Regions from separate parts of the Homo sapiens genome. Here region 1 is linked to region 2. The links are contacts of gene promoters, found by promoter capture Hi-C in human tissues and cell types (Jung and others, 2019). All regions are on one chromosome and are shown on one strand. The core of a region is centred on a gene start or on the middle of the fragment in contact, and the rest is flanking DNA. Distances in the headings are between cores, read along the strand shown.

The links. The method cuts DNA at HindIII sites, captures the fragments that hold promoters and counts their contacts. A contact is called where the count stands out against the background at its distance.
Region 1: the fragment with the promoter of ZFP3 here is called in contact with the fragment with the promoter of SCIMP in region 2 in 1 of the 25 tissues and cell types used here (mesendoderm cells).

Annotation. Positions count from the first base shown.
Region 1 is chr17:5,076,647-5,080,518 of GRCh38, forward strand. It overlaps ZFP3 (ZFP3 zinc finger protein), which reads left to right and starts at 1,821. Exons shown (of 2, transcript NM_153018.3): 1 at 1,821-1,929. ZFP3-DT (ZFP3 divergent transcript) reads right to left here and starts at 1,467. Exons shown (of 2, transcript NR_186458.1): 1 at 1,241-1,467. RefSeq lists enhancers at 1,289-2,160, 1,528-1,597. The HindIII fragment of the contact is 17,416 bases long and covers 1-3,872 here.
Region 2 is chr17:5,233,231-5,236,831 of GRCh38, forward strand. It overlaps SCIMP (SLP adaptor and CSK interacting membrane protein), which reads right to left and starts at 1,630. Exons shown (of 5, transcript NM_207103.3): 1 at 1,505-1,630. The coding sequence starts at 1,525. ZNF594-DT (ZNF594 divergent transcript) reads left to right here. Exons shown (of 6, transcript NR_152840.1): 6 at 1,884-2,773. RefSeq lists an enhancer at 1,872-2,071. The HindIII fragment of the contact is 19,973 bases long and covers 1-3,601 here.

The sequences.
Region 1 (3,872 bases), core at 571-3,070, 160 kb before region 2:
ATATTCTGATTGAATCAGAGTTAACAAACTTCCCATGCAGTTGCAGACAGTAGGGCAAGGGAGTTAAGGATTTTAGTACCAGAGTGGCTAAAGTGATGGACCCTAGAGTCTAGGGCCTAATGGCAATGATGAATTCAAGAGAAAGTTTTCTTTCTGCTAGATTGTGTGTGGCATACAAACACAATATTCCCTTCTAAGGGTGGTCACTCCTTTCCCTATTTCATAGGATTATGGTGAGGCAAACACAGAAGCCCGCCGTCATCCTTGCGGGAAGGCAGGTGACCAGGCTTGGTAAATCACACGGTCCTTTCCCCCTTGATTGGTCCATGGTTGAGCACCAGACCCAAACAGGGCTAATCATAGTCCTTTGTAACTGATATTTGGGAAGGATAGTGTACTCTGAGGCAACATTATATAGAATGAAAGTCTTCAATGTGGTGATCTTGGAACTGACACCTAAAAACAAACTGGCTGGCTGGACGCGGTAGCTCACGCCTGTAATCCCAGCACTTTGGGAGGCCAAGGTGGGCCTAAGGTCTGACCTAAGGTCAGAAGTTCGAGACCAGCCTGACCAACATGGTGAAACCCCGTCTCTACTAAAAATACAAAAATTAGCCGGGCGTGGTGGCTGGCACTTGTAATCCCAGCTACTCTGGAGGCTGAGGCTGGAGAATCGCTTGAACCCGGGAGGTGGAGGTTGCAGTGAGCAGAGATCGTGCCATTGCACTCCAGCCTTGGCGACAAGAGCGAAACTCCGCCTCAAAAAACAAACAAAAACAAGCTGGAGGCCGGGCGCGGTGGCTCATGTCTGTAATCCCAGCACTTTGGGAGGCCGAGGCGGCCGGATCACCTGAGGTCGGGAGTTCGAGACCAGCCTGACCAAAATGGAGAAAACCCGTCTCTACCTAAAATACAAAATTAGCCGGGCGTGGTGGCACATGCTTGTAATCCCAGTTACTCGGGGAGGCTGAAGTAGGAGAATCGCTTGAATCCGGGAGGCGGAGGTTGCGGTGAGCGGAGATGGCGCCATCGCACTCCAGCCTGGACAACAAGAGCGAAACTCCATCTCAAAAAACAAACAAACAAGAAAACAAGCTGGCTGTGCAAAATTACAGAGGAAGTAACAAGGAAAGGTTCTGAGGTGAGAATGGGCCAAGCTTGCTCAGGGAACCCAGGAAGGCTAGCTGCAGAATGCTGTTTCCGTGGCCTCGGCAGCTTAACCTAGGCCTTTACTCTTAACCTTGGTAATTCCCACGCAATCTTGAGATTTCAGGCCAAACGTCACTCCTGCAAGCCCTTCCGGAACTCAAAGCATGTCTCCCTTCGCTCCCGCCGAGGAGAGACCTGTTCCCAGGATCTGCAGCCCTGTGCTTATCAGACCCACGGAGTCTGTGGAAAGGAAGGATGGGATAAGAACGATGCGGGTTGGGAGAGTTAAAAGGGTCGCGCAAACGGTCCCCGCGGGAATGCGAAGCGGATTCTCGAGTTCTTGAGCCTAGAGCAATGCTTGGGGAGCGACACGAGGGCGCAGAGCGGCAGATCGCGGAGCGGAAGTTCATCCCCGGAGCCGTTCTAGGAAACCCGGAGGACTCAGGTCGTCAATGATTCCGGGGCTGAAGTGGGCATCGACGGGTGCACTTTGCTGTTCCAGGGAGCCGGCTCGGCAGGCGGCGGCGACGTGGAACTTGGGCTAGGGCTAGAACCGGCGAAAAGCAAGCCGGAAAAGGCAAGGGGGCGTCGGTGCGCTGACCACCTGTTCCTCCAGCGGAGTGCGACGCGCGCCGATTGGCTGGAGTGCCGCCCGGGTACCGGAAGTGGCCGATGCCCGTCGCCAGTGACACCGGGACAACAGCTGCGGGCTCTGTGCGAGCGGCCCAGCAGCGCGGAGCCTCAGCGGAGTGAGCGAGCGCGGGGCAGTAGCGGCCTGCGGTGAGACCTCATTCCGTCGCGGCTGTGGGGGTAGGCGGGGGCTGGGCTCCCAGCTCCCTAGAGAGCCGAGCGGAAACCCTACGTTTAGGCCCGTTCTGACCGGGGTTCGCTGTGTGACCTTGAAGTTTATGCCTCCCTCCATTCCCCCCGCCCCCAGGCCTTCATTTCCACCTGCACACAGAGAGGGTGGGGCCTGGACACCGCCAGGGACAGTCCCAGCTCTGGTTTGGTGCCTGTCAGCCGTGGGGGTGGGAGAAGCAGGGACACTCCCTTCTGTACCGAGGTGGGGACCCGTGGGAGCTGTGGTTTTCTCAGACATTCCACCCCCAAGTAAACCGCTAGGACGAAATGGCGGGCAGTGTCACAAACTTAACGCCCTAGTGGCAGATTGTGCCCTGTGCTGCCAGACAAGATATTGGCTTATGAGGGGTGGTCGTGAAAAGGAGACAGGTTTGAGCTGCAAAGATAGAGCCCTATTGTGGGTCAGAGGGAGAAGAGAGGAAAGGAGGTTAACAGTGCCATAAATTAAATATCACCCAGATTGGGAAAAGGAACTTATTTTTACAAACAGTTATCGACACCAGCTATGTGTCAGACACTATCCTAGGCTCTTTAGATATAATGATGAATGAAATATCCAGTTAGCCATCAAGAGTATTACAGAGGCTGGGTGCAGTGGCTCATGCCTGTAATCCCAGCATTTTGGGAGGCCTAGGCGGGAGGATCACTTGAGCACAGGAGTTCAAGACCAGCCTGGGCAACATAGTGAGACACCATCTGTACAAAAAACAAAGAAATTAGTTGGGTAGTTGGGTGTGGTGGCGCATGCTTGTAGTCCCAGCTACTTGGGAGGCTGAGGTGGGAGGATTTTCTTGAGCCTGGGAAGTTGAAGCTGCAGTGAGTCTGGGCAATAGAGCCAAGACCCTGTCTCAGAAAAAAGGGAGGTATTGCAGATTCATTATATATATAAGACAGTTACACAAATTCACTTAACATTTACCAGGTATCTGAAATATGCTAGGTACTCAGAATACCAGGATGAATGGAACAGCATCCTTGCTTATGGTCTAGAGAAGAAAATAGGTATGAAAAATTAATAATGCAGTGGGGTAGCTGCTACAAGGTGAAGGAGTAGCTGTCTGCCTTAGAGCCTGGGGGTCAGGGAAGAAAATGGAGGGGGTCAGCTGGGCGTGATGGCTCATGCCTGTAATCCCAGCACTTTGGGAGGCAAAGGTGGGCGGATCACCTGAGGTCAGGAGCTCGAGACCAGCCTGGCCAACATGGTGAAACCCTGTCTCTACTAGAAATACAAAATTAGCCAGGCGTGGTGGCAGATGCCTGTAATACCAGCTGCTTGGGAGGCTGAGGTGGGAGAATCGCCTGAGCCTGGGAGGCGGAGGTTGCGGTGAGCCAAGATTGCGCCATTGCACTCCAGCCTGGGAGACAGAGCGAGGCTCCATCTCCAAAGAAAAAAAAAAAAATAGGTATCGTGGTTTCAGGACTGATTAATCCAGTGGCCCTGGCAGCATCTCCCTTGTTTTTCTGAGCTTTAGCTGCCCTCATCCACAGGCTGGTAGTGAGATGGCAGCAGCAGGTACAGGCAATAATATATGGAAGTATTTTCCTATGGTTCTCTCAGGATGGCAGGAAACTATTCCCAGAAGCTCCCAGCAAACGTCCTCAAAATATTGACCCAGATGAAGGTGGATGTCCATTTCCAAACCAGGAATTCCCGAATCCTTGCTGTTTCTGAACCAGTGCCTTGCAAGAATTAGGGCATTTATTTGACTGGGTTAACTCAGTTGGAGTGTCCTGCTGGAGCTCTTGGATGAGGTTAGATCTCTGGCAAGGAAAGCAAAGCCACTGCAAATATTTTTGCTCACATACCCCGTAAAATAATTTTGGAAGGTTTGTGTCTCTTTATACATTTGCAAGTTGACATC
Region 2 (3,601 bases), core at 380-2,879:
ATCAGCCTCCAAATGTAGTCCAAGTCCTCATCTCTGTACCTGGACCATTGCATTTTCGCTGGCCCCTAGCCCCCACTGGGCTCCCCACTGGCTGCCAAATACCAGTGTGACCCTGTCCCTTCCTTGCTTTAAGCCTCTCAGTAGTTTGTTTGTTTGTTTTTGAGATGGAGTCTTGCTCTGTCACCAGGCTGGAGTGCAGTGACATAATCTTGGCTCACTGCAACCTCCACCTCCCGGGCTCAAACGATTCTCCTGCCTCAGCTTCCCGAGTAGCTGGGGCTATAGGCGCCCACCACCATGCCCAGCTAATTTTTGTATTTGTAGTAGAGACAGGGTTTCACCATGTTGGCCAGGCTGGTCTTGATCTCTTGACCTTGTGATCTGCCCACCTTGGCCTCCCAAAGTGCTGGGATTAGAGGCGTGAGCCACCATGCCCCGCCTGCCTCTCAGTAGTTATTTACCACTGAAGCAGAGTGAAGCCTGTGCTCCACATTGCTTCATGGCCAAGACCTCAGGGACAAGTGGACACACCAGGCAGTGGGAGTGGATATGGCAAAGCCAAACCCAGATCTCTTCTCAAAATAATTTTCCAGAGGGCAAAAGCAGATGGCTACACCGAGAACTCACGCCAGCCCAACACACTTTGATCTCGAGGCCTCTGGAAGGGAAGGTGCCTAATGAACTACTGAAAGCCAGAGATGCAATGACAAAGGTACCAAGACTGGAGGTGATCCAGGTCTTTCATCCAAGAGCCCCAAGACGTAGCCTAAATTCATGCTACGGTAATCCCAGCACTTTGGGAGGCCGAGGCGGGCGGATCACCTGAGGTCAGGAGTTCGAGAGCAGCCTGGCCAACATGGTGAAACTCCGTCTCTACTAAAAATACAGAAATTAGCCAGGTGTGGTGGCGGGTGCCTGTAATCCCAGCTACTCAGGAGGCTGAGGCAGGAGAATCGCTTGAACCCGGGAGGCGGTGGTTGCAGTGAGCCGAGATCACGTCACTGCACTCCAGCCTGGGCGACAAGAGCGAAACTCCATCTCAAAATAAAATAAAAATAAATAAATTGACACAGTCAGTGCCTCGCTCCCACCCCCACCTCCAGCATAGCACCATGACAGTCTTCTCACATAACAAGTCCCAAAACACACCATCGGCATCCAGAAAGTGAGAGTAACTCGTTACAGTTGAGACCTCTCACTCCCGGTCATTATCTCATTTCAATCCAAGAGGTAGACTTCTTCATCGCCCCTGACATACACATGAGGAAAAGGCCCAGAGAGGTGAAGTGATGCCTCAGGTCACTCAGCCAGTTACCAGTAGAGCAGATCCTTCAATGCAAGTTTTTCTCCAACCCTACACAGCAGTCGTACCAGGGCCCCAGGCTGCAATCCCCTGGCCCAGTGCTGATCGGTGGCTCCCAGGGACACGCCCTGATGCCAGCGCTGGCAGATGTCTGCTGTGAAGAGAGCAGGAAACTGTCCCTTGGAAAGCTGAGATGCTTACCTGAACTGTGAAAGTATCCATATGTGAGCAGCTAAGGAGACAGCAGTGGCTGGAGTGCTGCAGCTCAGGCACAGCTGGTGAGAGGCATTCCTCACTCACAGGCCTTCACCCACTGCTAGAGACAGTGAGCCCCATCCTGACCACTTCCCCTTTCTAGTCAGCCCACGGGGCAGAGACCCTGGCGTCATCTCTAGGCAACCATCCCTTTTCCAGGGAAGCTCATGACCCACGGCTGTCCAGAAGCCAGAATCTTCTCACTGCCCCGTGTCGCTCCCGCAAGGCCTACCAGAGGACCCTCATGGTGTGGTAGGGGGTCCTGGCAGGGGCCAGGGGCCAGGGTGGAGACTTGGCAGTGGGGGTGGGTTTGGTGTCCCCACAGACGAGTTTGCCGTGAGCATTCCTGGATGTGGCAACCTCAGTCTCAAGAAGAGCGACAGGACGCCAGCTCCCATGCAGAGACAGATCCAGGTAAGAAACCAGCTCATGTGTGACAAACTCACCATCTCACCATGAAGGTGACTCTTGAAAGCTCCTGTGCACCTTGGAACTGCTGAGACATCTTCTGCTTGGAGGAGGCAAGGGACAGGCTTCCTGTTTCTAAAGGCGTGTGAGTGGCGACCTTGAGAAATGTGGCCAGTGGAGCATTTTGACTGAGTTGGGTCCCCTCGTGCAATACTGTGAGACAGAACTCCCAGCGAGGCCCACGGCCTCTGACCATGGGGGTTGGAGTGGGGAAACCAATTAGCCATTTTGTTGAATTGGCTGGTTCTGACTCAAATGAGCAGTCACATTAGTAAAAATAGGCAAACGGATGTGCATTGTATTTGCCCAGAGCGAATGAGTTGTTATCCATTTCAGTAATAATGATAACCAGATATGTCTGATAAATATCTGATAATGTCTGATATATGTCTGGTAAATTTAACAAACACCGGGCTCTGGCTGGGTGCGGTGGCTCACACCTGTAATCCCAGCACTTTGGGAGGCCAAGGCGGGTGGATCACCTGAAGTCAGTAGTTCGAGACCAGCCTGGCCAACATGGTGAAACCCCATCTCTACTAAAAATACAAAAATTAGCTGGGCATTTTGGTGTGAACCGGTAGTCCCAGCTACTCAGGAGGCTGAGGCGGGAGAATTGCTTGGACCCGCGAGGTGGAGGTTGCAGTGAGCCAAGATCACACCATTGCGCTCCAGCCTGGGCAACAGAGCAAGACTCTATCTCAAACAAACAAAACAAAACATCTGGCTCAGAAGATTCCTGATTTGCAGTGTTTACTAATTTCTTTTTTCTTTTTCTTTCTTTCTTTCTTTTTTTTTTTTTTTTTTGAGATGCAGTCTCACTCTGTCGCCAGGCTGGAGTGCAGTGGCTCAATCTCAGCACACTGCAACCTCCGACTCCCAGGTTCAAGCAATTCTCCTGCCTCAGCCTCCCAAGTAGCTGGGACTACAGGTGTGTGCCACCGCATCCGGCTAATCTTTGTATTTTTAGTAGAGACAGGGTTTCACCATGTTGGCCAGGCTGGTCTCGAACTCCTGACCTCAAGTGATCCACCTGCCTCGGCCTCCCAAAGTGCTGGGATTACAGAGTTGAGCCACTGCACCTGGCCAAGGCCTGAACTCTTTCTTCTTAGGCTCATCCAAAGTTTAGCTGCTAAAAAACCTTCCTAAAAGCCAATTTAAAATTTTCTTCTAGGCCGGGCACAGTGGCTCACGCCTGAAATCCCAGCACTTTGGGAGGCCAAGGCAGGCGGATCATGAGGTCAGGCGTTTGAGACCAGCCTGGCCAACATGGTGAAATCCCGTCTCTACTAAAAATACAAAAATTAGCCAGGCATGGTGGCAGGTGCCTGTAGTCCCAGCTACTTGGGAGGCTGAGGCAGAAGAATCGCTTGAACCTGGGAGGCGGAGGTTGCAGTGAGCCGAGATCGAGCCACTGCACTCCAGCCGGGGTGACAGAGCAACACTCCGTCTCAAAAAAAAAAAAAAAAAAAATTCTCTTCTGAGGGGTGAATAAATGCTTCTGTGGATAGAGCTCATCCTAGGCTAACAAAGCTGTGACTTCTTGGTTTGTGTTTCATTCATTCATTCAATAAATTA